2 separate regions of the Homo sapiens genome follow, and region 1 is linked to region 2. Evidence: promoter capture Hi-C in 16 types of primary human blood cells and fetal thymus (Javierre and others, 2016). All regions are on one chromosome and are shown on one strand. The core of a region is centred on a gene start or on the middle of the fragment in contact, and the rest is flanking DNA. Distances in the headings are between cores, read along the strand shown.

Region 1 (4,804 bases), core at 2,253-4,752, 60 kb before region 2:
CATAGGGTTGGCATGGATATTCAATGAGTAAATACGGTGAAGTGTTTAAAATGGTGACTACCCAGTAGCAGCTCAATTTTTTTTTTTCGGATAGGGTCTTGCTCTGTTGCCCAGGCTGGAGTCCAGTGTAGTGAACATGGCTCACTGTAGCCTCAGACTCCTGGACTCAAGAGATCCTCCCATCTCAAACTCCAGAGAAGCTGGAACCACAGGCACATGCCACCACACCTGGCTAATTTTGGTTTTGTTTTTTTTTTAGAGATGGGTTTTTTCCACGTTGTCTAGGCTGGTCTTGAACTCCTGAGCTCAAGTGCCCTTTCCACCTTGGCCTCCCAAAATGCTGGCATTACGTGTGTGTCACCATGCCCTGCTTTATCCTCGTTTTATTTTTAGTTCGTGATTTTTTATATTATTTTGAAAAACAACCCCCAGCTTAAAAGATGTTATTTTTTTCAACCAACAGTTGGAATACATGATTAGATATAATTTATGTAATAAACAAATATTTAAATGAAGACTATTCTACAAAAATTGGAACATATGGTTACTATAACTACAGTGTACATTTTTAACTAGTTTAAAAATCTTTGTATGTATTTTTTCTCATTGCTCTGCAAGCCAAAAAACAGGTCCACCAAATATACCATCTCTTTGTGAATTCTTACGACCTGATACTATTACTTCAATTGTTTTCAAACGATTGCTCTTTTAATTATCAATGATGGCCAGGTGCGGTGGCTCACACCTATAATCTCAGCACTGTGAGAGGCCGAGGAGGGTGGATCACCTGAGGTCAGGAGTTCGAGACCAGACTGGCCAACATGGAGAAACTCTGTCTCTACTAAAATTAAAAAAATTAACTAGGTGTGGTGGTGTGCACCTGTAATCCCAGCTACTCAGGAGGCTGAGGTAGGAGCATCTCTTGAACCTGGGAGGTGGAGGTTGCAGTGAGCTGAGGTCGTGCCACTGAACTCCAGCCGGGGCAACAGAGCGAGACTCAGTCTCAAAAAAACAAAATTATCAGTGAAACCCTTTTATCAAATAAGATTTCACAAGATACTACAATATGTAAGCAGTCTGGGTTAGGGTCCTTGATCCAGAGCCCTGCGTATTTTTCTCTCCATGAAACCCAGAGCTCCTGGAAACACAGTTTGAATACCTTATTTGTCATTGCTAGTGATACAATCAGTTAAGCAGGTAACAATTTTCTTTATATAATTATTACACGCTGGTTGTGCATTTCTTTTTTTTTTTTTTCTGAGACAGAGTCTCGCTCTGTCGCCCAGGTTAGAGTGTAGTGGCTTGATCTTGGCTCACTGCAACCTCTGCCTCCTGGGTTCAAGAGATTCTCCTGCCTCAACCACCTGAGTAGCTGGGATTACAGGCGCTTGCCACCACGACCGGCTAATTTTTGTATTTTTAGAAGAGACGGGGTTTCATCATGTTGCTCAGGCTGGTCTTGAACTCCTGACCTTAGGTGATCTGCCCACTTTGGCCTGCCAACGTGCTGGGATTACAGGCGTGAGCTACTGCACTGGGCCCTGGTTGTGCATTTCTAATGATATACTCTAGTTATTATTTTACACTTGGAAACAATTTTGGGAAACGGTTTTATCAATGGTATATTTACAAATCATATCTTAGGGTTGGCTGCTTTTACAGAGGGTTGTTACAGACATTTTATATGCATTATTTTTAGCTTCATTTACAGAGGATGACTTTTTATTTTACCTTTCCCAAATCAGGTTATACCATATTTAGAATCTACGTTTCCTCATGAACCTGCCCTGGTCAATATTACCACGAAAAAAAAACAGATCATAAGAGTATTTCATGAAAAAGTGTTCTCTTATCAAACTTATTGGTGAATAATTTACACACATTTTTCATGTTTAAAGTGTACAACTTAGCGATGACAGTTGTATACACCTGTGAACTTGTCACTACCATCAAAACAGAGAAAATTTCCATCGTCCCCCTCCAAAAATATTTTTTCTGCTCATTTGCAGTTTATCCTTCCCTCCACTCCTGGCTCCAGGCAATTACTAATCTGGGTTTTGTCATTATAGGTTAGTTTGTACTTCATATAAGTGGGATTATACAATATGTTTTGTCTCTAGCTTCTTCAACTCAGCATACCGATTTTGAGAGTTATCCATATTGAGTCCTGTGTGAGAGTATTTCTTCTTTTTTATTGTTGAGTAGTATTGCATTGTATAAATATACCACAATTTGTTTTTTCATTTACATGTTGTTGGACAGTTGGGTTCCTTCTGGTTTGGGGCTTTTGTGAAAAACAGCTGCTATGAGCATTCCTGTTCAAGTTTTTGTGTAAGCATATGTTTTAATTTCTCTTGGATAACATCTAGGAATGAAATGGCTGGGTCATATGTTAGATGTATGTTTACCTTTTAAGGAAATATTTTGCTTTATTTTGTGAGAACTTACTTAACTCCCCTTGCATATCTAGATAAATAAGTATCAGATAAGGATACTAAATTTACCAGATTCTCTAGGTGGCAGGTGGGAAAAATCAGATAAGAATACTAAATTCACCTGATTCTCTAGGTGGCAGGTGGGAAAAATTCCTTATCTTCCCTCTCCATGGCCCACCTACTTTCATAGTTCATTGCTCGTCCAATTTGTTTGAGTTCTTAAAATAATTTCAACTTCCCCCCTTTATTTTTTCTATTGTTACCATCTCAGGGTTGGTTGGGTGCCTATTCTGTATTGGATATTGTGTTAGGCGCAGAAGGGGCACGTGGGACTTTGAGTTAAAGGGGCAGCAAAACCTTGTTCTGTTCTCTGGACTGAGTTGGACAGACCACAACTACGGATTATGCTTCAGGCAAAGTATGTGAGAACTCTTGAGGCAGCATTCCATTTACCTGACTCACATGCGAGAGAAAATATCCCACTTTTGTTTGAGTGTGGGCTTTAGTTATATATTTATTTTAATCAGGTGTGGCTGTTAAAGGAAAAGGAAGCAATCCGTGAAACAAACGGAAAAAAAAAGAGTAGGGGAGAGAAACAAGTCTTCCTTTAATAACGTATACCTTTCCTTTTGACCAGCAGGTCCCAAAGTGTGGTACCCAGACTAGTAGCACCAGTTTTCGCTGAGAACATGTTAGAAATGGGAACTGTCGCGCTACGCTCCAGACCTAACTGAATCGGAAACTCAGTTTCCGGGTTTGGGATCTGTGATTTAAAAAGCTCTCCAGGTGATTCTGATCCACGCTCAAGTTTGAGAACTGCTGTGCTAAACTCATTCCCAGGGTGTAGGTGGTCATCTTTAGACTTGGGTAACTGTGGGCGGTAGAGATAACGTTGCCGCAGCGCCCGTCCACCTCTCCCCATCCACGCTCCCAGCGCCTGCAACTCCTCTTTCACCCTTAGCCTAAACCCAGGTTCTGGGCTTCCCTTTCCCTCCCCTGGGAGCCGCAGGCAAAACGCGGCAAGTGGATTCAGAGTTTGCGGGCCCGGGTGCCGGCCGAGCATGCGCAGTGGCGCGAGCGCAGCGGCTACGCGGGCGCGGAGAGGTAGCCGCAGAGTGGACCTGCAGGTACTTGGATCTCCAGTGGGAGCTGCCCTCTCGAAGGCAGGACAGCGGTGGCGGCAGGTACGCGGGGGTGGGGATAGGGCCCAAAAGGAAGGCTGGACAGACAGATGGAAAGCGAAGCGTTACTCCTTTGGGGGCGCGCGGCGGCTCGGGGGCAGTATCTCCGGGTCCCCTCGCTCGCGTCTCGTCTCCTGGCTGTGCAGTGTGGCGCCCGCCGTCCTCTGGGCACGCTTCTGCCCAGTCCCGGCAGGCAGTGCCCGCAGGTGTTAAATCGCGTATTTACACTGCTTAAACAATAAGCCTGTTAACTGAATTGTGATTCTATGCAATGAAATAAGGTATTTCATTAAGTTTTCTTCTTTCAACTTTGGGTGGCTGCCGGTGAGGCTTTCTGAACCAGCCTGTTTTGTTTTAATTCTGGGACTGGTTTATTTGCCTTTGGCCTTTTGGTGCATAGGATCAATAGGGCTGTAGTGAAATCCCATCCGTGCTGTTTTTGGTACCTTTCCTGGAGCATAGGGACCTCTGGATGCGGCATAAAAATGTCAGTTTTCAGCGAATTTCACTGCCAAAAAACTTTCCGTGTTTCAGCTGCATTTTCAAGTGGAGACTTAAAAAAATTTAAGATTTCTCCCTAACTTTTCAATTATTACTGTATTTCGGTCTTCATTTGGTACTATTAAAAGGAAGCGGTCGTTTAGATGAGTAACAGAATTCTCACTTTTCCTCCTTTACTTACTTACTATGTCACATTTTATGGCTTATACCGTGATATCTTTCCCTCCAGCCACGGTGTTGGATACACTTGTATGAGGCTTCAGCTGTGCTGCATAAATTTCTTGAAGAACCTGTGAGCCAGAAGCAAAATTTCAGGACAGGGGGCACACACTGAACTTGAAGCAAGTACTTTTACACCCCCCACCACCTTTGTAATCAGCTTTCCTTTAAGTTGAATTATGTAATGAAATTCTATAGTAAAGTGTTAATGTGTAATGTGGAGGCATATATATATATAGAGAGAGAGGTAGTAAGTTTAGGAAGAGGAAATTTTAAGTTCAGGAAGAGAAACCTATATGGAAAGGGAATACAGGTATCCTGCCCCCCTTCATTCCTCCCATGATAAATGTTTTAATGGCAGAAATAATATACAGCTGGTCTAGTTTTGGCTGTAGAGACCTTTGAGGTCAGCCAGTTCAGCTGCTTCAGTTTACAAATGAGAAAACTGAGACCAGCGAGGTTAGATGA
Region 2 (4,622 bases), core at 877-3,376:
AACACCATGTATAAACATGTGGATTAAAAAATTTGAATGCTGTCAAATTAGTCTTTGTGCTTCCAATACACAGCACAGTAAAGAGGTACAGCAAACAAGTGCTCAATAAGTTGTTGTTGAATAAATAAATGGGTAAGTGAATGAAGAGAACTGGTTATTGACGTATAGAAACTCTTCATCTCCTCTTGTCAGTTGGTGGCACATTTCCCATAAACTGTTGTTTTATTTGGCCCTTTGTTATCTAGTACTCCTTATGCTCTGTGAAGAGAAATATTAGAGAAATATTACCTTTAATGAATTTTACTAACCTTTCCCCACATATACAACACAAGGCCAGTGGGAATATAAAAATATAAAATATCCTTTACCTGCAAGGAGCAAACAATGATAGGAAGGTGGGATGAAAATAAAATAGCAAAATAAGACCATTACAACACAACACATAACCAAGAATAAATTAATGTACATGAACGGAATAATACATAAGAAATGAAGACACTGAGCAAAGGAAAAGACAGAGGTGATGAAGTCTTATGCCAATGGGAAGGCGTTAAGGATATGGGGGAATCGGCCTTCCAAGCTGTCAAGTTGAGAGTGGAGAACAGAGACCGCATTAATTTGGCAATGTGGGGTATAATGAAATGGTAAATACTTGGGAAGACTGAAGCAGAAAAAAGTCCCAATGTTAAAATAACAGTGTATTGTTATTTTTTGTTTTTGTAGGAGATTGTCAGGCCTCCCTTTAAGAGATCACAAGCCGGGCACCGTGGCTCATGCCTGTAATCCCAGCACTTTGGGAGGCTGAGGTGGGTGGATCGGCTGAGGTCAGGAGTTCGAGACCAGCCTGGCCAACATAGTGAAACTCCGTCTCTACTAAAAATACAAAAAATTAGCTGGGCGTGGTGGCGGGCGCCTGCAATCCCAGCTACCAGGGAGGCTGAGGCAGGAAAATCGCTTGAACCTGGGAGGTGGAGGTTGCAGTGAGCTGAGATCATGCCATTGCACTCCAGCCTGGGCAACAAGAACAAAATTCCGTCTCAAAAAAAAAAAAAAAAAAAAGATCACAAAAGAGTTAGTCAGTTTGGAACCAGTGTCACTTTACCCCCGGTGCGCTGTTCCTGGCTTAACACTTCATAATGGTGCATAATTGAAGTTCTCGAGGTCTCTAGGATTGTCTAAGCATGTGGGAAATTATTTTATGTGTTTGAAAATAAAATTGTCTTTTTAAAATAGCCCAGGATTTGGCAAATCCAGGCTGTTGGCAATCAAATTAATTACTTTTTTTTGTTTGTTTTTGAGATAGAGTCTCACTCCGTCACCCAGGCTGGAGTGCAGTGGTGCAATCTCAGTTCACTGCAACCTCCACCTCCCTGGTTCAAGCAATACTTGTGCCTCAACCCCCCAAGTAGCTGGGATTATAGGTGCATGCCATCAGGCCTGGCTAATTTTTGCATTTTTAGTAGAGACAGGATTTCACCATGTTGGCCAGGCTGGTCTCGAACTCCTGACCTCAAGTGATCTGCCTGCCTTGGCCTCCCAAAATGCTGGGATTACAGGCATGAGCCACTGCACTCGACCAATTTTTAAGAAAAGTTTTCTATCATAGCTGTCCCTTGTGAATGAATGAAAAAGTTGAGCTCAGTTATTTTAGTGCTGAAGGATGCTCAGGAAATCTTTGAATTATATTGCACCATTTTCATATATTTTACCCTTTGTCCAAAGGACAGTCAAGGCTGTTATGTAGAGTAGGAGACTAATATTTAACAAAATAAATGATATCCCAATTCATACTTATATTCAACAGTCAGTAGACATTCCAGTTAAAGAAAATCTGATAAAAAATGGACAGGTTGATATGGAATATGAATACTTACTTTTTCCAAAATGAATGATACAGCTCCCTGTTGTGAAATGTTGTTGAATAAGGAGATTGCTAGACATATAGATGAAAATATTTTCCAGGTTTTCCTTTAAACTAGAAGGAAAATTCTTCAACTATTTCATAGCTGTTTTTTTTCACATAGTGATTTATTTCAGTGACCTTGTGATCTGTAAACTTGTAATGGAGGGCTGAAAATGGGAAGTAACATAGGAAAAGGGAAGGGCTGTGGTGAGAGAGACAATAATTTGCAAAGAAGAAGAGGACATGGGGTACCAGTAGAACTTCTACTCACCAGAGATACTGAAATATTCTAGAACCTCTGATCTCAGTCAATTCTCCATAGGAACACTATCAAGTCTTTTTCCATAAAAGTCAGATAAAAGAAAGATCACATTTCTTGATATTCTTTGAAGCAACTTTATTTTTATTGTCATGCTTCATCCTGCCCGAATACTGCCAAGTCTTTCTCAGGCACCTGGAATCTGCTCCTCAGCCTCTGTTGTCCTGGGTCTAATGTAGAGCAAAAGGCTGAGAGGAAGCTCTTCTATTCTCCATCATCGGTCTTCAGTGGCTACCTGGGAAACACCCCTTGGCTTAGTCGGCAGATTCTCTCCGGTGAGGTTCTGTTGCACCTGCCACTCCTAGGGCAGCAAGCAGCAGTCTTACTTGCTGGCACCTAGAGATTTCCCTTCCTCCCTGTGGGGGCAATCTTTCCCTCTCACTGCCTTCCTCATCTAGTGGTTTCTCAGAGGTGGCCTCTTCCCCCTGATCCGATTGCCAGGACATCCAACCTAAGTAAGCCCTCTAGGAGGTTCATGCTTCTTCCCAAAGACTGAGGGAACCACAGATTCTAGCCTGGTTTTGCCTTCTGTGCTGCCAGAGTCCCTCAGATAAGAAAGTGTTATAGTGTTATTGCTGTTTTGTTTTGTTTTGTTTGTTTGAGACGGAGTCTCACATTGTCACCCGAGCTGGTGTACAGTGGCGCGATCTCTGCTTGCTGCAACCTCCCCACCTCCTGGGTTCAAGCAATTCTCCTGCCTCAACCTCCCAAGTAGCTGGGACTATAGGCGTGTGCCACCACACCTGGCTAATTTTTGTATTTTTAGTAGAGACGGGGTTTCACTGTGTTGGCCAGGCTGGTCTCAAACTCCTGACCTCATGATCCGCCCACCTCGCCCTCCCAAAGTGCTGGGATTTCAGGCGTGAGCCACCACGCCCAGTGTGTTATTGCTTTAATTGAGGAGGAAAAAGAATAAACACAATTTAACATTTCAATAAATTATTCTCCCACAATAATATTAATTATTTTAATTTCTCAAGATTGAAGTAGTTAAGTTTCCTAAAGCCTTGGTAAAATTTCCCCTGTTCAAAAACATATTCTTGGTCATCTTTATTTTTTATTATTTTTATGGCTTGATTTTCCTTTATTAGTGGCTTGTGGCTTTGGATTAAGAAGCATCCTTTTTTCTCTTTAAGAATAATTTTTTATAATATGAATTATTTAAAGCAAAAGACTAAAATACAGAATCAATATAACCTATGTCCATGTACTCACTTCCTAGATTGAGCAGACATTAGCATTTTGCCATAACTGCTTCAACTGTATCTTTAAAAAATATGTAACAGGCTGAGGACATTGGCTCATGCCTGTAATCTGAGCACTTTGAGAGGCTGAGGCAGGCAGATCACTTGAGGTCAGGAGTTAGAGACCAGCCTGGCCAACATGGTGAAACCCTGTCTCTGCTAAAAATACAAAAAAAATTAGCCAGATGTGGTGATGGGTGCCTGTAGTCCCAGCTACTCGGGAGGCTGAGGTAGGAAAATTGCTTAAACCTGGGAGGCAGAGGCTGCGGTGAGCTGAGATCATGCCACTGCACTCCAGCCTGGGCAACAAAGTGAGACTTTGTCTCCAAAAAAAAAAAAAAAAGATGTAACAGATTCAGCCCTACCCTGCAAGCCCTGCTCCTTGCCTCCCTCTACATAGACCACCACTATTCTGAATTTGTTGTGTTATTCTCATGTATGTTTAAGTTTTACTACATAGGTATGGGATCATAAGCAACATATATAGTATTTTGTGTTTTTATAATTTATAATAAATAGTATATTGTATGTATACTTCAGCAGTTTGCTTTTTTCATTTAGTATGATTTTGAGAAACAGATGTGATTCATTTGTTTTACTGATGTATACATATTGATTAAATAGTAATGTAAATATAGTTGGAAGAATTAACACTTTACAGGCTTGGTTTACTGGTTATTCACATTTTAGTGTTAAGTAGTCATCATTCCTTTCTTTAAAACTAGTTATGATGCTTGCCGTGAGAGAGTAGGAATGCTAATTGAACTACATGTAGAACTTAAGAACTTGGGCACTAGAAAAACATTTGCTTTTGAATCTCTTATTTTGTCTACCTTCCTTGGGCAGGTCACTTAATCTCTGTAGGCCTCAAATATACATTTTTAAGGGATGATGCTTGTACCATCAGTAGAGCAGATAAATGCGTAGTGAGCTCATGCATGTGAGGAGGTTAGCACAGTTCCAGACCCATTGAAAGCCCTCAATAAATATTTGCCATTATATTTCATATTTCTAGACGAGGAAGAATAAAGGAAAAAGGAAATTTTGGAGGATGGATAAGGGGAAAAGCTGGCTGACCCGAGTCAGGGGCTAGCTTGAGAAGTCAGAATTTCAAGTGACCTGTGACAGGGCCACTGTGGAAGATGGGAAAATAGAA

What was found. Contacts are between HindIII fragments. The CHiCAGO score rates a contact against its expected background, and 5 or more counts as called.
Region 1: a contact is called between the fragment with the promoter of PLS1 here and the fragment with the promoter of PLS1-AS1 in region 2, in 1 of 17 cell types (megakaryocytes). The highest score is 5.5, in megakaryocytes.

What each region holds. Positions count from the first base shown.
Region 1 is chr3:142,592,891-142,597,694 of GRCh38, forward strand. It overlaps PLS1 (plastin 1), which reads left to right and starts at 3,503. Exons shown (of 16, transcript NM_001145319.2): 1 at 3,503-3,619. It overlaps PLS1-AS1 (PLS1 antisense RNA 1), which reads right to left. Exons shown (of 4, transcript XR_001740938.2): 4 at 3,019-4,407. RefSeq lists an enhancer at 3,559-3,798. The HindIII fragment of the contact is 10,696 bases long and covers 1-4,804 here.
Region 2 is chr3:142,654,684-142,659,305 of GRCh38, forward strand. PLS1-AS1 (PLS1 antisense RNA 1) reads right to left here and starts at 2,127. Exons shown (of 4, transcript XR_001740938.2): 1 at 1,875-2,127. The region is part of intron 1 of PLS1 (plastin 1); the gene reads left to right. The HindIII fragment of the contact is 6,495 bases long and covers 1-4,622 here.